Linked DNA regions of Homo sapiens: all the other regions are linked to region 2. The links are contacts of gene promoters, found by promoter capture Hi-C in blood cells and fetal thymus (Javierre and others, 2016). All regions are on one chromosome and are shown on one strand. Each heading gives the region's core, a stretch centred on a gene start or on the middle of the fragment in contact. The rest is flanking DNA. Distances are from core to core; before and after follow the strand shown.

What was found. The method cuts DNA at HindIII sites, captures the fragments that hold promoters and counts their contacts. A CHiCAGO score of 5 or more calls a contact.
Region 1: the fragment with the promoter of RRM1 here is called in contact with the fragment with the promoter of TRIM22 in region 2 in 1 of 17 cell types (non-activated CD4 T cells); the score reaches 6.8 in non-activated CD4 T cells.
Region 3: the fragment with the promoter of OR52K2 here is called in contact with the fragment with the promoter of TRIM22 in region 2 in 1 of 17 cell types (neutrophils); the score reaches 6.5 in neutrophils.
Region 4: a fragment that was not itself captured here is called in contact with the fragment with the promoter of TRIM22 in region 2 in 1 of 17 cell types (activated CD4 T cells); the score reaches 5.2 in activated CD4 T cells.

The regions. Positions count from the first base shown.
Region 1 is chr11:4,093,231-4,096,277 of GRCh38, forward strand. It overlaps RRM1 (ribonucleotide reductase catalytic subunit M1), which reads left to right and starts at 1,569. Exons shown (of 19, transcript NM_001033.5): 1 at 1,569-1,801. The coding sequence starts at 1,783. RefSeq lists enhancers at 1,199-1,268, 1,329-1,798. The HindIII fragment of the contact is 7,950 bases long and covers 864-3,047 here.
Region 2 is chr11:5,688,284-5,691,267 of GRCh38, forward strand. TRIM22 (tripartite motif containing 22) reads left to right here and starts at 1,507. Exons shown (of 8, transcript NM_006074.5): 1 at 1,507-1,616. It overlaps LOC124902620 (a long non-coding RNA gene), which reads right to left. Exons shown (of 2, transcript XR_007062561.1): 1 at 2,395-2,984; 2 at 1,944-2,013. RefSeq lists enhancers at 1,187-2,179, 1,301-1,640, 1,612-2,811, 2,227-2,326. The HindIII fragment of the contact is 4,665 bases long and covers 1-2,512 here.
Region 3 is chr11:4,448,015-4,451,395 of GRCh38, forward strand. It overlaps OR52K2 (olfactory receptor family 52 subfamily K member 2), which reads left to right and starts at 1,281. Exons shown (of 1, transcript NM_001005172.2): 1 at 1,281-2,347. The coding sequence starts at 1,326. The coding sequence ends at 2,270. The HindIII fragment of the contact is 8,565 bases long and covers 1-3,259 here.
Region 4 is chr11:6,700,517-6,703,938 of GRCh38, forward strand. The region is part of intron 3 of LOC124902625 (a long non-coding RNA gene); the gene reads left to right. Among named protein-coding and RNA genes, the nearest start is that of MRPL17, 19 kb to the left of the region's middle. The HindIII fragment of the contact is 2,317 bases long and covers 255-2,571 here.

The sequences.
Region 1 (3,047 bases), core at 319-2,818, 1.6 Mb before region 2:
TGTTCTCTGTGCTGTGGCATGATGGGATAAAGAGACAATCTTTCCTTTGCCCAGGGAAAATGAAACTTGAATGCACATGCCCAGAAGCTCTGTGGGCAGGGTTACCAGATAAATGCAGGATGACCAGTTAAATGTGAATTTCAGATAAACAGTTTTTAAAGTATAATTTTCTCTCATGCAGTATCTGGGACACATTTTTATTTGCTAAATTGGGAAACCCTATGTCTGGGTAAACTTGACCCTATCTATCCTATAACTTCACTTACGACTTTTAAAAAACATATCTATTTAATTTTTCTTTCTTTTTTTTTGTTTTTTTTGAGACGGCGTCTCACTCTCTTGCCTAGGCTAGGGTGCAATGGCGCGATCTTGGCTCACTGCAACCTCTGCCTCCAGCGTTCAAGCGATTCTTCTGCCTCAGCCTCCTGAGTAGCTGGGATTACAGGCGCGTGCTACCATGCCTGGCTACTTTTTGTATTTTTAGCAGCGGGGGGGTTTCACCACGTTGGTTAGGCTGGTCTCGAACTCCTGACCTCGTGATCTGCCCGCCTTGGCCTCCCATAGTGCTGGGATTACAGGAGTGAAGCACCGCGCTGGCCTACTTTTTCTATTTTTTGTAGAAATGGGGTCTCACTATGTTGCCCAGGCTTATCTCAACACCTGGCCTCACATGATGCTCCCGCCTTAGCCTCCCAAAATGCTGCAATTACAGGCTCACTTACGACTTTCCATGATTTTTGAAATTACTTCACAGGGAGCCTGGGCAGCTTCTGGAGGGCAGTGAGAAACCAACGAAAAGGCTTTAGGGAAAAGATGCCACAGATGAAATTTCATAAAGATCGCTTTGGGTAGCCCAAATCAGAAGCTTCTACACCAGCCTTACATATTACGGTTCTCATCTATTCTTATTCTCCACTCTAAGTCACCAAGTCCATCCTACCTCCACAAGGCAAATACCCTGTCTCTGCCACCATCCACTGAAGAACCCTAAAAGCAAATGGGTACTGACCCTGCCCTGCTTAAAATTCTCTCAGGGCTCTGATTTGCGTCAGGATAAAATCCAAACGCCATCGGCCTTGCGCGGTTTTCTTCCAGTTCCAGAGTGTCAGTCCTCTGGCCGATCTAAAAGCCCTGGGGCTCCAAGCTGCCCACGGCTGTGGAGCCTGGGCTGGAGCCCACAGCGGACGGCAGTGTTAGTATTATTATAATAAATGTCAGAGCAAGAAAAACGTTCCCGCCGGTTAGGTTTTGTTATTTCAAAAATAAATTAACCGCCTTTCCTCCGGCGGAGACGCGCAGGTGAGAGGGCGGCGCCTGACCCAGCGGGCTCTAGGTGCTACGCCAGGGCCCCGAGGGTCCCGAACTCGGCTTGCCCACACAAAACATGGTAGCAGGAGAGCAGCATTTCCGCCGGGCATGTCCATATCCAATGGGGCCCATGGGAGAGGCGTAGTCTTCTGGGTCTTGCCCAGACTCAACATGGCGGCTACACGTCGCCTGTCAGTCTGTGAAGCCTACCCCGGGCGTGGGCCGCAGCGTCGAGTAACGTCATTCGAACCCCGTCGCGCCCCTTTGTGCGTCACGGGTGGCGGGCGCGGGAAGGGGATTTGGATTGTTGCGCCTCTGCTCTGAAGAAAGTGCTGTCTGGCTCCAACTCCAGTTCTTTCCCCTGAGCAGCGCCTGGAACCTAACCCTTCCCACTCTGTCACCTTCTCGATCCCGCCGGCGCTTTAGAGCCGCAGTCCAGTCTTGGATCCTTCAGAGCCTCAGCCACTAGCTGCGATGCATGTGATCAAGCGAGGTGAGGGGGGGACGAGGTGGGCGAGAAGGAAGGTGAGGGGATGCGGGCTGCCGCCGCCGGAGCTGATGCCCAGACCGCCCGCCCGCCTTCGCTGCTTCCCGCCTTTCCCGCATTTCCCGCCGCGGCCTTCCGCCCTGTCAGCCCGCTCGGCCTTCTGTCTTCAGTCAGCCTGCCCCGAACCTCCTTCGGGCCTTCAGGCTGCGCCCCCTCGGCTTTGTCATCCTGCCGCCTTTCAAAAGGATAACACTTACCCCGTATCGAGTAGTGACTGCGTACGCCGAGCACTTGCCAGGCACTATTTTATTCCTCCCTGCAAGCCTCTGAGAGATGATTAGCTTATTACAGATGAGGAAACTGACGCTCAGAGCGAGGTGTCGCCGACTGACCCAAAGTCACCCATAGGTGACAATACGGTTTGATTTGAAAACCGTGGGGTTGGTGAGCTGTCTTAGGCACAGGGTCGGGGGGCAGCTAGGAAAGAAGGAGGGGGCCTCTCTACCCTCCGTAGGCACTTGTCAGTTTACTGATCTCTTTTGTGGGGTGAGGATAGGAGTGTGGCGTGGAAAAAACAGATCCCAGACAGACAGCACCCTCGAGTTCCTTTCCCTTCATGGGAAGAGATGCTGAATCAGAGAAGGGTGGCTGAGACATCTTCTGACAAGATGGGGACTGGGAAGAGTCAGGAACTCGTATTCTTTCTCAACAGTTCTTTTTCATTAGACTTGCCAAGTGCCCGCTTTGTGCCCAGCCCTTTGCTTGGCTTTGTGAGATTGTAGGAGGAGACAGTCCCTGCCTTGGGAACAGGCTTCATCGGGTTGGAAAAACAAGAGCAACATACTTTTAACAACCGCATGAGATACGTATGAACAAGTTTTGAGTTGAACCTACTTGCCTTTGTTAAAGCAATACAATGATTTCAAAATTGTAGGCACTTAGTAAATACTGGTTAATCGACTGGTTGTTTCTATTTTGTCCTCTAGGCTGTGAACATTTCAAAGATGGAGACTTGTTTGAGACAGAGTCTTGCTCTGTCACCCAGGATGGAATGCAGTGGTGTAATCATAGCTTACTGTAACCTTGAAGTCCTGGGCTCAAGCGATGCTCTTGCCTCAGCCTCTCAAGTAGCTGGGACTATAGGCATGCACCACCATGAGTGGCTAATTTTTAAAAATTTCTGGTAGTAAAGGAGTCTTGCTGTGTTTCCCAGTCTGGCCTTGAATTCCTGGCCTCAAACCATCCTCCCTTC
Region 2 (2,984 bases), core at 257-2,756:
GTCAGTTTTTTCTTCTATTCTGGCTTTCAGCTGATTGAATAAGGTCCTCATAGATATAAGTGAGTAGGAAAGAATTTATAGCCAGGATTAGCTTATTATTCTGTGAGCAACAAATAATACCAAAATATCTATTATTGAAATAATAAACATTGATTTCTCAGTCATCCTACATGTGTATCATTGATTAAAGTATGAAGATGGCCATGCTCCATAGTGTCAGTCAGGGATCCATGTTATGGAAGCTCCATGAGTTGCCTTTTTTTTTCTTTTTTTTTGGGTGTGTGTGTGTATGTGTTGTGTGGTGTTTGTTTGTTTGTTTTTTGTAGAGACAGGGTCTTACTATGTCACCCAGGCTGCAGTGCTATGGTGCAATGACGCAATCTTGGCTCAATGCAACCTCCACCTCCTGGGCTCAAGCCATCCTCCCATCTCAGTTTCCTGAGTAGCTGGGACTACAGGTGCACATCACCACACCCAGCTATTTTTTTTTTTTTAATTTTTCTTAGAGATGGGATTTCACCATGTTGCCCAGGCTGGTGTTGAAGTCCTGGACTCAAGTGATCCACCCACCTGGGCCTCCCAGAGTGCTGGGATTACAGGCATGAGACACCACAGGCCTCCATCAGTTTTTGATGGCATTATCTGGCACATGCAGTTAAACAAGAATACAATAGACAACAGGGTACAGAAGTATGTGCATGACGTATAACATGTTTCAGTGCTGCTTTTTAATTGATTGTGTAAAAATGACCAAACTTTTCTTAGAGAAGCAGGGAAAAGTGGAAAAATTATGAAGGCATGAGAGTAACTCAATGAATGATTATAATTAAACAGCATCATCTGTTAACTTCCATGTTCTCACCTGCCTCAGTGGCTGGGTAACATGACACTGACACAGTTTTACCTCTATTACTCTCTGGAATCCATCCTCATCTGGTCTGTCTGGATTAGGAGCAGGAAGTGATAATTAATTGATGGACTCTTAAGATTTAATGACATTTTGAGAACATTTTTTTCAATGGGCTCACACTAAAGATCCTTTTATTTATAAAAATAATTTTTTTACCATTCACAATGTCAGCTGCTAATACTCATCTTGTCAGCCCAAATTTGTAGAGCTTTATAACTGAGTATCTTCCTCGTCAGACTGCATTTCAAGAAGCTAGGTCCCAAGTCTCTGGATCTTTATTTTCCTGGCTTAGGTCTTAAATATAAGATAAATTCGACTAATAATTATAGGACTGCATTGGAATTCTAAGTATTCAGGCAAGCTGTATAACTGTAATTCACATTCTTTTTATTCAAATATTCTTGCTTGAGTAAACCACAGTAAGAATAAGGAAGTAGTGACTGAGTGCCTTGCCAGTACAGCAGATGCTAGAACATAATGTAGCATTACTTTCCCCAGGGTTTATTGTTATGTAAGTTCTTGTTCAGCTTCCTTTGTTTTCTTTCACTTCTGAGAATTTAACTTTCGTTTCTCACTCAGCTCCTGTGGGGAAACTCATTTGTGGAGACCAGCCCTCTGGCTTGGTGAGTGAATCTGGTTTACACCGGCTCCTGCCCTGCCTTCACTCTTCTCCCCTGATTCAAGACTCCTCTGCTTTGGACTGAAGGTGAGTGGAGCAATCTGTGGGAGCATAGAATGGGAGGCTTTGAGAAGAATAGATTGATTGTGTCTGGGTGAGTTTAATTTGTAGTTCTGAAGCTGCTCTGCATAAACAAAAAGAGGCAGCTTGTGAACTGTCTGCTGAGATGGCAGAGGAAGAAAGCACTGAGTCTGGGAGAGGGGTAACCTTTAAAGAAGAGAGGTTTGCAAAAGCAAAAAGCCTTGCTTGTTTCCTAGAGGGACCATTCATTTCTTCAATCTAGGTACCTCCATCACCTTCCTTGTTGGAAATAAAGCTCAGAATCTTAAGGGAGACGAGCACTCAAACAAAGGATTTCTCAGCAAAGCAATTTTATTTCTGTGCAGAGGGGTGCTTCTTCTTTGCCAGTCGCCATGAGAGCACACTAGAACAAAGGAGGAAGAAAGTTTTTATTCCTGACGCAAATCCTACCCCTTTGCCCTTTCCCCATTGGCTGGAGTCGGCCACACAATCTAAACTAGACTCAGTTGGCTAAACATTTTAACTTTCTTTAGATAAGGTGGGCACGTGAGGGAGAGAGGGGAGATGGGGAAGGGGTGTGTGTGATGAGCTAGATAACTAATCTTCTTCCAAAATAAGGAAAGGAATGTGAGTTGGTACTGATAACGCCTGGTACTGTGACATGTCTAGGCATGTAGCAAAAGCAGAAAGGAAAGAGAAGAGAAGAAAAGTGAAGTGGGGAGGGGCACTGTGAATTAAAGAATAAAGGATTGATCAGGCTATTTGAAGAGAAACCTTATCATACCCCACATTCCTATTCTGTCATTTTGATTTTTCCATTTTGCCAACGTGGATCAGAATTTTCTTTTATTCAGAGGCAGCAAATTCCTTCCTCCTTTCTCCCGAAGAAGCCTGTGCAATGAAGCTTTGTTTTCACTTTTCATAAAGCAACCTCATGATGAGGTTCAGCAGGGATGAGAGCCCTTATCTGGATCTGGGTATGAGGCGAAGGAGTCTTAGGTACTCAGTCTTCAGAAGTAAGGCCCTTTTGAAGGTTATCCTTTTACTTGCCTTCTGGTAACTTTTTGGATGCTGTCCATAGCTTTCCTGATAAATTAGCAGCCCTCTGGTTAGTCCGAGGAGAGAGGCCGCAGGACGGGCAGACTGCTGCTCATCTCTGCAGCTCCACTTTGGTCTCTTGTCTCTGAAGGTCCAGTCACAGGGAACTTGTTCTTCTGAGTACCCACAGCTTACTCTTCCTTTGTAGCAGGACCAGCCACAGAAAAAACTCCTCAGACACCGAGGTAAAGAAGGAAGGGGTTTATTCGGCCAGGGGCATAGGCAAGACTCCTGTCTCAAGAGCCGAGCTCCTCGAGTGAGCAATTCCTGTCCCTT
Region 3 (3,381 bases), core at 31-2,530, 1.2 Mb before region 2:
TGGTTATGCCTTCATCTATAGGTGAGGAACCTAAATCTTTAAAAATTTCAGTGATTAATACTAGTTTCTATTGGTAGGCTGATGGCTCAATCATTACTTAAACCCAAGTCTTTAGATTCTAATTTTTTTTCCTATATCATGATAATGAGTTTGAGTTATATTTCTGTTAACTTGAATATGCTGGATTTATACTTCTTAGGAAGCAATGAGGTAGAAGCAGAAGAGTGTAGTGATTTAAGACATTGGATTGGGAGGCAGCAAACCAGAGTTCTCGAAGCTCAAGTTTCATCTTTGACGTTTTCCAACTGTTCTGATTGTTAGTGACTTAGTCTTTTGTTTTCTCAATTCATAAGTGTCCACGTTTACTGAGCACTGTTTCAAGATTTGTGCTAAGTGTTTTAAAAGATCTCAAAATCCCCAAAAGAAAGTTTTTAGGCAGGAGCTGAAAAAAAAGGTGGCACAGGTCAAAAATATTGCAAGGAAATGTTTAAACGTTTTCAAGGGAAATGACAACAGAAGGTGGAAAAAGATAGAATGATAAGGATCCCAGATGGAAAAATAGTGTGAAGGGAATAGGTCAGTCTTGCAAAAAGGTAAGTGTGGGGCATCTCTTCTTCTGAATGTCATGAAGTCCAGGAAGGAAGAAGCACGTAGAGATGAAGGTTAAACTACAGTTAGGCAAAAGAGAACAACAAAAGGGCTTCTCATGTTCTCAAGTTACCTGGAGGTAGGGCTTTAGTTGGAGGGATTTCTGAGTGTCAAACAAGGACCTACGAAACCCTGCTAGAAAAAAAATCTAAAGAACTTGTAGGGAAGTGAATTATTAGAAAGTGCTAACTACATTTATTTTTCATATGACCAAGATTGACATTTCAGGGCAGAAACTCTTTCATAATTGGGAGTGTAGTTTGAATTGGAAGGCAATAGGAAGACAGTGACGGTAAATGTTTGTGGGTATGATTTGAATTAAGCAGCAATCTGTATTATTTACAAAGTTGCTTTTGGCCACATGCAGGCCACAAAAGGCTCTTCCTCCACTTGATTTCTCAATAAGGCTGCTTTGTAATACTAGCTTTATTGGAATTAAATGTCCTGAGCACCCAGTGTTTTTATAAACAGCTTAAGGGCAAGGATCATGCATAATATTTCATGATACATATGATTATTTTCTCATTTCTTTTCATGTCTAAAAATGGGTCTAAGAACTAATCTTCTCACAAGAATGATCAGAGTTTGAATGTGAGCATTGTAATTCTGCTGATATTGAATATTCTCTGGAAGGGCCCTGTGGAAGCAGATAAGGAGGAAGAGAATTCCCAGGAGCCATGTCAGCCTCCAATATCACCTTAACACATCCAACTGCCTTCTTGTTGGTGGGGATTCCAGGCCTGGAACACCTGCACATCTGGATCTCCATCCCTTTCTGCTTAGCATATACACTGGCCCTGCTTGGAAACTGCACTCTCCTTCTCATCATCCAGGCTGATGCAGCCCTCCATGAACCCATGTACCTCTTTCTGGCCATGTTGGCAGCCATCGACCTGGTCCTTTCCTCCTCAGCACTGCCCAAAATGCTTGCCATATTCTGGTTCAGGGATCGGGAGATAAACTTCTTTGCCTGTCTGGCCCAGATGTTCTTCCTTCACTCCTTCTCCATCATGGAGTCAGCAGTGCTGCTGGCCATGGCCTTTGACCGCTATGTGGCTATCTGCAAGCCACTGCACTACACCAAGGTCCTGACTGGGTCCCTCATCACCAAGATTGGCATGGCTGCTGTGGCCCGGGCTGTGACACTAATGACTCCACTCCCCTTCCTGCTGAGATGTTTCCACTACTGCCGAGGCCCAGTGATCGCTCACTGCTACTGTGAACACATGGCTGTGGTGAGGCTGGCGTGTGGGGACACTAGCTTCAACAATATCTATGGCATCGCTGTGGCCATGTTTATTGTGGTGTTGGACCTGCTCCTTGTTATCCTGTCTTATATCTTTATTCTTCAGGCAGTTCTACTGCTTGCCTCTCAGGAGGCCCGCTACAAGGCATTTGGGACATGTGTCTCTCATATAGGTGCCATCTTAGCCTTCTACACAACTGTGGTCATCTCTTCAGTCATGCACCGTGTAGCCCGCCATGCTGCCCCTCATGTCCACATCCTCCTTGCCAATTTCTATCTGCTCTTCCCACCCATGGTCAATCCCATAATCTATGGTGTCAAGACCAAGCAAATCCGTGAGAGCATCTTGGGAGTATTCCCAAGAAAGGATATGTAGAGGGTGAGGTGGAGAAAGAATGGGTTGGCTTGTCTGCTGGAGTTGGAGACAGGCTATGGTAGAATGTGCACGGCTGCCAGGATCTTCATGTTTAGTTTTTTCTTGGAAAAAAAAAAAATGATGTCCTGAAACTCAGAGCCACCAGTCTGTTCAGGACTCATGGGTCTGTGTCCTCTGGTAGCCTGTGGATTGAATGTGCTGACTGTGCTGTCTTCTCACAGTGCCCTCACCCCTATCAGTAACTTGACAGAGACTTGACCCATGGGTCTCCAGGTGACTTCACCGAAAGACACAAAGATGCTTCCAACTTCATTTGCTGAAGAGAAGACTTTGAAAATCTGAGTTTCTTTTCTTAGTCATTGGGAATTTGGTGAACTATCTACTCAGGACCTGGGTGAGGGCCAACAGTATATCTGACATAGGAATCCTTCATTCATTCTGACTGGTGGTGTCCAGCTTCTGATGAAACACTCAGTGTTAGGAAGTTTGAAACATTCCAGGGCTGCAGGTTCTGAGTAAGACACCTATGCTTGCTAGAAAATCATTTTTTCACCTAAGCCAGTATGTGTATTCTTTTGCTTATATTTACCAATCCATCCTTATGTCCAATTCCTTTTATTAAGTACTTTGAATAAGACATGTCCTCTGGCTTTATGTTTCATGCAACTCTTTCTTTGCACATAGATGTATCTTATGTTTTCAAGAATGAGAATGGCTCATTTATTTACTAATTCCACCAAATCTGTGATAGGGGATGGGGACACATATACTAAATTAGGGGTGTCAGACTTGTGTATTTGTCCTAAGACAGAGAAGGAAATGATAATTATGATAGATTCTGTTCTCTGAAATTTCCATCCCAAGGCCCAGCATAATAAAAGAAGAGCAAGACCAAGCAGATAGGAGGCAAGAATATTATGTTTCTCTTTTCCTGTCTCATGTGAACTTACCTACTATATAATTCTCTATTAATCCTGACAACACAGCTAAGCTTTTCACACAAGCCCTGTATAAATACATTGTTCTGCTGTTATCTTCTGACCCACTTGTTTCCTCAGATATTATTGCTTAGAAATTATATATCTCTTTTGCTATCACTGTATCTTTCTCT
Region 4 (3,422 bases), core at 163-2,662, 1.0 Mb after region 2:
TTAGTAGAGACGGGGTTTTGCCATGTTGGTCAGGCTGGTCTCGAACTCCTGACTGACCTCAGGTGATCTGCTTGCCTCAGCCTCCCAAAGTGCTGGGATTACAGGTGTGAGCCACTGCACCTGGTCTGCTTCTACCACTTTAATGTTACATGTAAGAGAAAAAACAATATATATTGGAAGTAAGTTAACCATGTACATTTATTCAAACTCATGGGAGAAACATTTTTATTAGCTTTTTTTTTTTTTAAAAAAAAAGCTTTATTGAGCTAAATTCACATACCAGAAAGTTCTTCCATTAGCTTTTGATAGAGGTTGGGGTCCTATAAATATGTATTTATTTTTACCCTCGCTCATGACTTACTTGTTACTCTTCAACCAATTTTCTTGTAATTTATTCATTCCTATCATCGATTTAAGAAATTTAGATTAGCTTTATTTGAATATTTGGTTAATTCTATTGTAAAAATCCTTCTGTAACAATAATTAATACACGTTTTAAGCCCCTGCACTTCTAAGCAGCCCAGTACCTTTACTTTTTGCTCTTAATCTCTACTAAACCCAGTCACATTTTAACATTGGGTATTTTATTCATTTAAGGATAAGGGAACTAATTAAAAAAAAACTTGCCCTGTTCTTGTCTTTAGAAGATGTATTTTAATAAAAAAGTACTCTTTCTATTTAAGAATTATTTATCACAGATTTGTAAAATACTTTGTTTCGCTTAGTTCTATACTATAAAACTGAAATGGTAACTAAACCTGTAAGAAATCAGTTGAAATTTACATTTCAAATTTATACGCATATTTTGTGGCCCAAGTCATGTATGCTACTCTTATAACTGACAAAGGGGTTGTGGACAGAATATGTAAAGGACTCCTAGAAAATCAACACAAGATAAAAATGGGTGAAAAACTTGAGTAGGCATTTTATGAAAGTGAATATTCAAATAGCCAATAAAGGACAAAAATGTAAAACTTCATTATTAATTAAGGAAATACATATTAAAACCATATTGAAATAGTACTATATACTCCAGAATGGCTAAAGTTAAAAAGACTTTCTGATAAAATTAAGTCTTGGTGAGTATGAGAAGCAACTGGAATTCTCATACATTTCTGATAAAGGCATAAATTGCAACATACACTTTGAAAGCTGGTTGGTACTCTTTACAGAAGTTGAAAATGTATATGCTACAACCCAGAAATCCTACTCCTAGTATATACACACATGCCTAATGGAAATGTGTATATATGTGCACCAGAAGGTATGCAACAATGCTTATAGCAAAACTATTTAAAACATTCCCAAGGTGGGAACAGCACACATGTTTGTTGGCAGAAAGGATAAATAATTGTCATTTGGTCATATAATGCATTATACAACAATGAAAATAAACTAATACAGCTCCACATAGTAACATGGATAAATCTTAAAAACGTAATGTTGAGTAAAGGAAGTCAGGCACAAAATGTACACATTGTATCATTCCAACTGCTTGTTTGAAAACAGAGCTAATCTCTGTGTTACACTGCTTTGGAGAGTGGAGAGAAGGTACAGTGATTAGAGGAGGGCATGAGGGGTGAGTTCTAGGGTGTGGGCAATGCTCCGTAACTTGATCTGGATGCTGGTTACTGGAGTGTATTTGCTTTGTCACAGATCGTTGAGCTGTACACATAAAATCTGTGTACCCTTTTTAGTATAACTGTTATATTTCAATAAAAAAGAAGTTAAAAAAGATTAGCCACATCTTTTATAGCTGTCCGACTCATGGAGAGTTATCCTTTCTTTGAGTTTAATACTGATAAATAAAGGTCCCCTGAAGATATCCACCTCCTACTCCCCAGAACCTGTGACTGTTACTCCATATGGCAAAAAGGACTTTGCAGATGTGATTAAATTCACAATCTTGAGACGAGGAGATTATCCTGGATTATCCAGTGGGCCCAATGTAATCACAAGGGTCCTTATAAGAAAGAGTCAGTAGGGTCAAGCATTGGAATGAGGCACTGAAAAACTTGACTTCTTGTTGCTGGCTTTGAAGATGGAAGGGGGTCATGTGTCTAGGAATGTAGAAGCAGAAAAGGCAAAAAAAAAAAAAAAAGAAAGAAAGAAGAAAAAGAATTTTTCCCGAGTGTCTTTAGAAGGTACGAAGCTCTGCCAATACCTTGTTTTTAATTCCATAAGTCCTAATTTTAGACTTTGACCTCCAGAACTGTAAGATAAATCTGTTGTTTCATTGTTTTTAGCCACCAAGGTTGTGATAATTTGTTATAGTAGGAACAGGAAACTAACACAGTGGGTTACACATTGTGCCCGTCAGAATACATCACACATAATAGGTACTCTGTGAGTGTGTATTGAATGAATGGCCGAGCTTCCAACATGTCTGATTCTTAATTACGACGAAGGAATTTTAGAAATAAATAAAGGTGTTTTTGTCTGTGAGAATTCAAGACTGGTATTGTGTAGTGTGACCAGGCAATTTTTTTTTTTTGTCTCTCTCCTGCTAATCTTCCAGACCTCAAGGACCTTTCCAGACCAAGGTCCTGGAGGTGAAGTGAAGAGAGCACAAGCTTTGAACTCATCAGACAACAAAATTGAAGATGAGGATGTAGATAAAAATGCCATTATTAGGGCTTCTCCTTAGTCTGTCGGAGGCATTCATTTGTCTGGAGGAAGTTAGAATTTTTTCCAAAAATATAAGACTGAGGTAATATTAGTCTTTTGACATCCAAATGGATTATGCCATGCATCAACTTTAGGATTCATTCACAGAAATGTAGCACAGCATGGTCAGAAAGAAGAAGGCTTAATTTTACAAAGGTGCCTTGAGTTTTTATGCAGTTTGGATACTGAATTGAAACCCAGTGGATTGTCATAGGCCTACAATAGCAGAATGAGTTGACTCAACAATAAGGTAGCGTAGACTGCTGGACCAATTTGCAGGCTGGAGGATGTGGCAATCAACTCAGGGTTCTGCAGACAGCAAAATTTTTCTTAACAGCCTTAGCAACTCAGGAACATTGTCCCTGTAGAAAGTACAGACCCCATGTGAATTAGCCAATTTAGCAGTGGTGTCCTGCAGAATGTTGAATAATTCAGTGCCCAAAGGACAGTCCCCCAGAGACCAGCAGATGGAGCTGCCACAACATAAAAACCAGCCTGAGGCTAGAGTTCCTTCTCTGTGCCAGGGGATTGCATAACCATAGTCTCTCCATCATACACTGGGGAGAGAAGCAGGGGAAGTAGAGGCTTTCTGAGTGATCAAGCATTATTTTATCCAATAGAAACAATAATTTCTGAAGGCATATTTACATTGTGTCAGGTTAGACTAAATTAAAATTAGATTGCATTATTAGTTTTTTTTTCTTCCTCCTGCTAACTCGTAGATAGGGATTTGGGAGGACATCAGATTATAGACT